Linked DNA regions of Homo sapiens: regions 1 and 3 are each linked to region 2. Evidence: promoter capture Hi-C in 16 types of primary human blood cells and fetal thymus (Javierre and others, 2016). All regions are on one chromosome and are shown on one strand. Each heading gives the region's core, a stretch centred on a gene start or on the middle of the fragment in contact. The rest is flanking DNA. Distances are from core to core; before and after follow the strand shown.

Region 1 (3,023 bases), core at 268-2,767, about 12 Mb before region 2:
CAGTAATGGGATTGATGGGTCAAGAAGTATATATATATATAAAAGCTCAGTATCAGTGATCATTAAGAAAAATGCAAATCAAAACCACAATGAGATACTGTCTCACACCAGTCAGAATAGCTACTGCTAAAAAGTAAAAAAATAATAGATGCTGGCAAGGTGGCAGAGAAAAGGGCATGCTTACAGACTGTTGGTGGGAGTGTAGATTAGTTCAGCCATTGTGGAAAACAGTGAAGGTAAGAGTTCAACATAAGAATGGGGAATGGGTGCACACAGTCAGTCTACAGCAGGGAGTCTGGGGCATATGGACGGCATATAAAGCCAAGCGGCCCATGAAATCCACCAAGGAGAGGATGTGGAGAGGGAAGGGAAGGAGCCCCGGACAGAGTCCTTCAGAAACGTCTGTATTTAAAGGTCAGGTTTTGAGAAGGAACCCACTCAGTTCAGTGAATGAGAAGACCCAGGAGGTGCAGAATCACCAGGAGGACTCGGGGAAGAAAGCTGTGCAGAGGGTTTTGTGGTTGTTTTAAACAATGGGGGTGCAGGGGAGGCTTTCCAAGGTGAGGAGTTGGACAGGATGAAGACAGTGAAGTTGTGTCACAGTACTGACTCCGTGTTAGAGAAAAGCTTGCTTGCTTGCTTGCATAGAATCCTTGCTTTGCTCGAGTTTGTAGCTTCTTTATTAAAAACAGCCTCCGGAGAACAAGGCCTTCAACAGAGATAAAAGAGAGAGCAGCTGACCAGCCACCCTGGGAATGTGCTGACCGCCCTGATAAGAACAGCTTGAGCATTCCTGCAGAAGGCCAGGGACATTGACCAAGGAAGCCGCGATTAACTGTCCGCCTGAGCCCGTGCACGTTTCCCAAAAGCACTTTGACCATCATTTAAGCTCCCCTAATTTCCCTGATCCGGAGGCACACGTGGAGAGGTGGTCTTGGAACACGCCTCCACTGTTCACCGCCTCCCCAGGGGTGCCACTTCTGGAATAAAACCAACTTTCCTTTTCACCCAGAGCATGTCACCTTCCAAGGTGGACGTCCCTGTCAAGGTAGCTGCTCTTCTTCTCCTTCTTCTTCTTCGTCTTCCTTCTTCTTCTTCTCCTTCTCCATCTCCTTCTCCCTCTCCCTCTCCCTCTTCCTCTTCTTCTTCTTTCTCCTCCTCCTCCTCCTCCTTTTCTTCTTCTTCTTTTTTTGAGACAGAGTTTCACTCTTGTTGCCTAGGCTGGAGTGCAATCTCAGCTCATTGCAACCTCCGCATCCTGGATTCAAGCGATTCTCCTGTCTCAGCCTCCTGAGTAGCTGGGATTACAGGTGCCTGCCACCACAACCAGCTAATTATTGTATTTTTAATAGAGACAGGGTTTCACCATGTCGGCCAGGCTAGTCTCAATCTCCTGACCTCAGGTGATCTGCTCGCCTCCGCCTCCCAAAGTGTTGAGATTACAGGTGTGAGCCACTGTGCCCAGCCCACAAAACATCTTTAACAGTTGCTTTGGGGTGGCTGTGGAACAGGAGGGGCACACGGTGGTCTCCAGAGAGCTGTTGACACAGTACAACAAAAAGTTTGAATAAAAAAGTTTGAATAAAAAAGACTGCTAATTTTCTTGGGGGATTTTCTCCATCACTTTGTTTGGAATTTGTCTGGTGCAATTCATAGAGGGGCCCACCGTGCACACAGGGGGAGTTTCCCACGTTCTTCCTGCTTTTCTAACACTGATGTTCCAAGATATTTCAATGGTCATGATAAGCGAAAAGTTCAAGGGAATGTGTACTAAGATAAGTAAACACATACTGAGATAACATCCTCAAACATTTTTTCTCAAATAAGAAAGTAGAGGTTCTAAACAGGAAAACAGAACTGGAATTATCAAGTTACTGGACAGTTATAATTATCAGACTTTAAGAATGAATAATCAAGTTTCAACCAATTTCAGGGTATTAGTTGTCTTTTCTGTGTCCACCCATCTGAAAAACCAGAGAACAACACGAAACGTCTCCGTATTAAAGACAAAAACAAAATTCTGTTCTGAAAGTTCTTAGCCTTTGCAACCAAAATCAGAAGAAAAAGAAAGCGATCACATTTTTTAATGGAACACATGAAAGTGTATAAGTGAGCCTGAGAACCATCTAAGGTAGCCCAGGTCTAAGTAAACACAAACACAGATTTCTGTTTTTTTAAAAAAAGAAAATATAAAGTTGTCACAACATTAACTTCACAGAGAAAAAAAGAAAAGGAAAAAAAATTTCCTTGCAAACAGTTGGTGTGCAAACAGATGGTGTATTCAAGTCTGTTTACTGCTGGGCAAGGGAGGGATTCCGTATGCCAAACACGTAGTGCTGTGTATGGAAGACACCATTCATTTGCCCAACTTCACTGCGATGCATACGGTGCTGAAATCAAAGCTTGCTTTTACCTTGGGGCAAAATTCTCCAGCAGGGGGATAAGCTGATTCAACATCTGTCAGCTGGACTTTTAAAAAATTCAAATATGTGGGTTCAGTGCTCATCCATTTCTTTCTAAACAACTTGAATTCAAATTCAGTCTCCATTCCTTATAAGCCACGGGAATTTCTTTATCTTACCGTGAAATATGTCAGGCATGGAGAAGATCGTATATATAAATATACATCGGAATGCATTAAAGATAATCATAAAACCAACAACCACACATGTAACTTTTAGACATTACCAACGCTAAATAAATTCCCTGAAAATCAGTTCTTCAAATGACTGGCTTATTTTATTTATTTATTTATTTACTTTTGTGGATGGTTAATTCCCTGAATGGCCAAATTTGCCCAATTCACCGGATGCAGCTAGTTAACAGCGACAGAAGCATGTTTCCTTTAACTCCTTGTGACAGCTACAGCGATCCCAATTGTAAGGGAGTTCCTGGAAACTTCTGTGCTGTTTAAATGATCTGACTTGAAGTTTTCGTTTCATTTTTTTGGCAGATTTTAGTTTAGCTTTACATTGGCTGTAGCTGCTTCATTGTAGCCAAACTGAAGTTCAGTGTGTTCTGAG
Region 2 (3,072 bases), core at 470-2,969:
GATCCCAGAGTAATATAATTTATTGATTTCTCGGGGAAATGAGAATGTTCTGAGAGTGGTATTTAACATCCACTACACTCGCATGAAATTCTCCCAATCACAGACTGATCTGTTCATTGAATTATGATATAGAGTTCAAAAACACTCGATAGAGGAAATTATATTCAAGTTGTGTCTTAAATATGGAGTAAGATTTTAATAGTACAGGAAAGGATGGACTTACAGAGGGAAGAACAATAGCAGCAAATTCAGACATTTGTAAAACTGGAGGACACAGGATGGGAAGTAGGACTGTGTCTACCCAAGCAAAGAGGGGTGGGTTTGGAACCAAATATCTGAAGGGCTTGGATGCTTTGGAGTCAATTGGCAATTTTTTAGAATTTATCAAAACAATTCGATAATCTGTTTATAAGAGAGAGTTCTAGAACTTCTAGGATGAAATTTTTGAAACACAACAAGGAGGGAGAGATAAGGAAATGAGTTATCACTGTAACTGAAACCTTTCATCATGGCACAGAAAAAGCAATCTCTATCTTCAGAACACACTTGTATCCCAGAAAATATTTCATTATATATATAGTAATGTAGTAAGTGATTAGGATGCCGTTTAAATCAGAAAGGAAAGAATTAATATTTATGTAAATTTTGTTAAGAAAAGTAGACAATCCTTTGGTGAAACAGGAAACTCCATCTTCCTTTCATATCATACACTTAAATGAATCACGCGGTGATTCAAAAGAAAAATGAAAGAGCCTGAAATGAATATAGATATGCACTTATTGGGAATCAGGCTAAGGAATGTCTTTTTGGTCATACTGGAGAAAAAAAAGAAGCCACAAATGAAAAGACTGATATACCTTGTCAGATGAAGTTTTTTGTTTTTTTTTTTTTCTAAACTACTTTATAAATGTTGAAACTGGGGGAGCAATTCATCACTTAGAAGCGATATCATTCATACACAGAGAGTGTATGACAATAAAAGATGACAATGAAATGCAATCGGTAATAAGCATATTTACTCTGTCAAATTGGGAAAATAAGACAGGATATTTAGTCCATCAAATTGGGAAAATATTAAAGAAAGTGATTGTGTGTAGTTTTGATATCATAAAATTAGAAGTGTAAGTTCAATGCAGGACAAAGGGGTAACTTCCCTAAAAACTAAAGAATGCTAGGCAAGTATTGCAAATAATTTGTGTTTTTTTATTATCTCTATGTATCTCTACGTCTTTTGTGACATACAGAACTATCCACGATATATGACCTGTGGCAAGAAATGATTACAAAATATTATGATGCCATTTGGGAAATGGGATTCTTAAGAATTCATATTTACTCACATAAACCAGGGATTAAGTAAGAATTTTTTTTAAACCATTCTTTACATGTAATATGAACTACTTTTGAAATAAATATTTAGTTGGCTTTTACACCAGAAAATCAATAATGCTTTATATCCCTGGTGATGGGATGATGGGCTTGTTTGAGAATATAGTCAGGTTTGCTACAACGCGAATATGTTAGTACTGAGTAAAGACATTCTTTTCAACTCAGAAACACCTTGCATGCCGCCTCCCGCCGCCTCGCAGTGGGCGTGACTCGAGGTGGACGCGCATTTACGACACCATCGCCCCTAGGATCGGACTGCGCTGCGGAGGGTTCTGGGAAAGGTAGTCCCACACCTCGAGTCGACTACTTCCGTTTCCGGTGGGCGCGTCACCTTGATTGCTTCTTAGGCAGTGGTGAGGCGTCTTAGAGACGTGCATCTCCATGCGGTTGTACTGTCAGGCCATGGGAATTAGGATCGGCTCTATAGGACCAGTGTGAAGGGACAACGTGCGGCGGAGGGTCGAAGCCCACGGATTTCCATGAGCTCGGCCTGGTGAGGCAGGGGTGTAAGGAGGCGCACGTATCGAACATTCTGAGCGCCTGTGCGGGGTGGGCCCGGGTCGGCAGCCCTCGCAGTCCAGGCTTGGAAAAGCAGTTTGAGGCCAGCTCTGGCTTTGAGATGAGATCTGCAGTGCGGGAGACTCCACTGTGTCAGTTGCGGATCGATGACATGAATTTTCTCAGGGTAGCCGCCCACCCACTTGTGGAGTAATTTCAGAGTTTTCTGCGAAGTCATTTCTGTAAACAGGAAGTTGATTCCCTGTGTTCTAATTTTATCCTTTGAAATGTATTAAGCGCTGTGCAAGTCCTAGGAGTTGGTTTGCTGTATCGTTGCTGGCTCTGCTTTTTGTAGCCGCCTAAGCACACACAGGCAGAATTTCACTTGTAAGTGTCCCACAGCATGTGACAGTCAGCTCTGGATTAAAATCTTGAGATTTTGTCTTGATTCTCCTTGTCTCCTGAAAGGGGCAGTGAAAGTAGGCTTGTAGACGGTTTCTTTGGGCATCAGGAATGGCGTGTCCCTTGTACTCTGAGTCCTGTAGGAAGAGAGGTTCTTTTCCTCGGCTCCTGAAGCAAGTAGCGAGGGTAGATTACAGGAAGGGGTAGATTACATCCAGCTGGCACTGAGAGATTTCCCCCTGTGGCGTGGTGGGAATTGGGATTAAATCATGTTATCCTGCTGTTCATTTTTCTTTCACAGGCTTCCTTCTTGGAATTGTTCGTTTCTCGGAGATAATTGTATAAAAGAAGGAGAAATAACCCCACATCTCTTGACACTAGAGCTCCAGGTGAGTGAACTTTGGTTCTCTTTTGTGGCAATGCCAGGTCTCTTGGTGACCTCATTCTTCATCCCATTGATATCACAAATGTTCATTCAGACCCCTTAGCCACACCTGCCTTCCCCTAGAAATGGGGGAGGTTTGAGGAATTTCCCAGTGTCTTTATTTAGTGTATTCTCTTCTTGGCTCCTAGTAGTGTGTCACTGGGTCAGTAAAGGCTTACACTGTTTCAGCGCCATGCTGAAGAAACGCAGGGTAGAAATAATTAGAGTAACTGTGATGGTGTATATTAACTGAGTGCTTACTATATGCCAGGTATTATTTATCCATGGTGTCTAGGACAGTGCCAGGCTTGCCAATAAATATTTGAATAAATGAATGTATTTCTATTGAATTTTCTGAG
Region 3 (3,185 bases), core at 639-3,138, about 12 Mb before region 2:
AATTAGTGTTTCGTGGGGACAGAGTTTCAGTTGGGGGACAGATGAAAAGAGTTCTGGAGATGGGTGGCAGTGACAGTTGCATAACATTATGAATGTATTTAATACCATTGAACTGTGTCTGTAAATAAATGGTCAAGATGGAAATTTTTATGTAATGTCTATTTTACCACAATTAAAAAATGGTAAAAGATCAGGTGCAGTTGATCACACTTGTAATCCCAGCATTTTGGGAAGCTGAGGCATGAGGATCGCTTTGAGATCCTCAGGTTTGAGACCAGTCTGGGCAACACAGTGAGACCTGTCTCTACAAAAAAGCAAAAATTAGCCAGGGCCGGGCGTGGTGGCTCACGCCTGTAATCCCAGCACTTTGGGAGGCCAAGGTGGGCAGATCACGAGGTCAGGAGATCGAGACCATCCTGGCTAACATGGTGAAACCCCGTCTCTACTAAAAAATACAAAAAATTAGCCGGGCATGGTGGTGGGCACCTGTAGTCCCAGCTACTCGGGAGGCTGGGGCAGGAGAATGGCGTGAACCCGGGAGGCGGAGCTTGCAGTGAGCCGAGATTGAGCCACTGCACTCCGGCCTGGGTGACAGAGCGAGACTTTGTCTCAAAAAAAAAAAAAAAATTAGCCAGGCATGGTGGTGCATGCCTGTAGTCCCAGCTGCTTGGGAGGTTGAGGCAGGAGGATCGCTTGAGCCTGGAAGGTCAAGTCTGCAGTGAACTGTGATTGTCCCACTGCACTCAGCCTGGGTGACATAGTGAGACCCTGTCTCTCAAAAAAAAAAAACAAAAGAACCTTAACTTAATCATAATCATATCTCCCACAACACCTCCCCACCTTTTTTTCAAACAAAGCAATATTCACAGGCTCTGAATATTAGGATTAGGACATGGATGTATCTTTTTAGGGGAAGGCAACATTTAGCCCACCACAGCCTCCTTGAAGTTTCTGGAGAACATAAGCTTGGTTCTACCTCTGAGCATTCACCTGGAACATTCTTCCTGAATCTAATCAGTATTATTGTCCAAGCCACTATCATATTGAGGGCCAACCAGGATTTGCTGATGGATTGGATATGCAGAGCTGTGAATCAAAAATGGCCTTAGGTCTGAGCAGCTGGGAGGATGGAGTTGTCATTTACTGAGATGGGCAGACTGAGGGTACGTAGCTGTGTCAGGGATGAGGTGAGATGAGGTGTTCACTCGTAGCTATGTTAAGATGGAAAGTACTATAAGACATCTAAGTGGAAATTTCCTATAAACAGTGGGTTGATGGAATTCATGGGAGATGTTGAGCTAGAGCTATAAATCTGAGATTTAACAATATATAGATGCTATTGCAAAGTTTAGCAATGTGTGGGATCATTTAGGTATCAAATCCAGATGGTAGACAAGATCTGAGCACTGAACTCTGGAGCACTCTAGAATTGAGACATGATAGTAGAAAAACATGGAAAGGAATATGAGAAAGAATATGTATTGGTTAGCAATTTGCTGCATAACAAATCATGCAAAAATGTATTAACTTAAAACAATAATCATTTATTATCTTTTATGGTTTCTGAAAGTTGGGGATTTGGAAACAGCTCTGATGGGCAGTTCTGGTCTGGGGTCTCTCATGAGGTGGTCAGAAGGTTTGACTGGGGCTGGAGAATCTACGTGGCTCACTCGAAGTTTGCCAAGTTGGTGCTGGCAAGCTGATTCCTCTGCACCTGGACCTCTCCAGGGGCTACTTGAGTATTCCACAACATGGTGGCTGAATTCCTACCCCTACTCCCAAGCAAGTGATCCAAGTGGAAACTACGATGTCCATTATGACTTAGCATTAGAAGTCACACACACTATCACTTCCTCCATGTTCTGCTGTTTCCAGCTGCAATGGGAAGGGTTCAAATGAGAATCAAAAACTTCCTAGACTCTCCCTTCACACTTCCCTCAGCCTCAGCTGGTCATGAACCAGCTCTGGGTCGGTGTCAGAAGAGACCACAAGACTGTGAGCACTACTAGGGAGTGAGGATTATTGCGGGCCACTTTGGAGGCTGGCTACTACAATCTGGTCAGACTCAGGGATGCCAGGAGCCTCTTGTCCTTAATCCCTCTGGCTGTCGGGCTGGAGGCCCTTGCAAGGGCCAGGAAGGAGACTGGCTCTTTTGACCTCTCCATCTTCCACCCCAGCAGAGGAGGGGTAGCCTGAGACCCCTGCCTGACACCAAGAGACAGGATTTCTATCCCAGTGGGGTATAGGGAGTATAGAGAAGGAAAGGGGAGAAAGTATCATTGCTTCCATATCCAGCAACAGGGGAGGTAGGAAGAAAGCCAGAAGAGAGAATTGTCAGGGAGGTCTGGTGAACCCAATTCAGTGTGGACTCAAGTCTTCTAAGAAGGACGGGTTGGGCCAGGCACGGTGGCTAATGCCTGTAATCCCAGCACTCTGGGAGGCCGAGGTGGGCAGATCACCTGAGGTTGGGATTTGAGACCAGCCTGGCCAACATGGCAAAACCCCGTCTCTAGTAAAAATACAAAAATCAGCTGGGCATGGCAGTGTGCGCCTGTAATCTCAGCTACTTGGGAGGCTGAGGCAGGAGAATCACTTGAACCCAGGAGGTGGAGGTTGCAGTGAGCCAAGACCATGCCATTGTACTCCAGCTTGGGTGACAGAGTGAGACTCTGTCTCAAAAAAAAAAAAAAGGAAGAAGAAGGACAGGTGACAAATTGTCAAGTCCTTATGACAGCTGGAACTCAACTACTGGATTTGCCAATGTGGAGATTATTGGTGGCCTTTTAGTAAAATGGTATAGATGAAAGCTTGATTGGAATGAGGTTAAGAGAGATAGAGAAATGCAAAAGTAAAGATGAGGCTATAGAGTTAGTTCTAAGGGGGAGAAGAGAAATGGTGCAGGAGCTGAATGAGATGTGGGTTGGTCAAGCACAGTGGCTCATGCCTGTAATCCCAACACTTTGGGAGGCTGAGGTGGGAGGATCACTTCAGCCCAGGAGTTCAAGACCAGCCTGAGCAACATAGGAAGTACCCGTCTCTAACAAAAAATTTAAAATTAGCTGGGCGTGGTGATGCACACCTGTAGTCCCAGGTGTGCTGAGACTTGGGAGGCTGAGACGGGAGGATTGTTTGAGCCCAGGAGGTCAAGGTGTCACTGAGTGGTGGTTGTGCCACTGCACTCCATC

The links. The method cuts DNA at HindIII sites, captures the fragments that hold promoters and counts their contacts. A CHiCAGO score of 5 or more calls a contact.
Region 1: a contact is called between a fragment that was not itself captured here and the fragment with the promoter of ZNF229 in region 2, in 2 of 17 cell types (non-activated CD4 T cells and naive CD4 T cells). The highest score is 10.8, in non-activated CD4 T cells.
Region 3: a fragment that was not itself captured here is called in contact with the fragment with the promoter of ZNF229 in region 2 in 1 of 17 cell types (total CD4 T cells); the score reaches 7.4 in total CD4 T cells.

Annotation. Positions count from the first base shown.
Region 1 is chr19:56,917,565-56,920,587 of GRCh38, reverse strand. No RefSeq gene overlaps it. Among named protein-coding and RNA genes, the nearest start is that of MIMT1, 78 kb to the right of the region's middle. The HindIII fragment of the contact is 1,775 bases long and covers 630-2,404 here.
Region 2 is chr19:44,447,119-44,450,190 of GRCh38, reverse strand. It overlaps ZNF229 (zinc finger protein 229), which reads left to right and starts at 1,719. Exons shown (of 6, transcript NM_014518.4): 1 at 1,719-1,882; 2 at 2,591-2,678. The HindIII fragment of the contact is 11,359 bases long and covers 1-3,072 here.
Region 3 is chr19:56,887,330-56,890,514 of GRCh38, reverse strand. No RefSeq gene overlaps it. Among named protein-coding and RNA genes, the nearest start is that of MIMT1, 48 kb to the right of the region's middle. The HindIII fragment of the contact is 1,842 bases long and covers 968-2,809 here.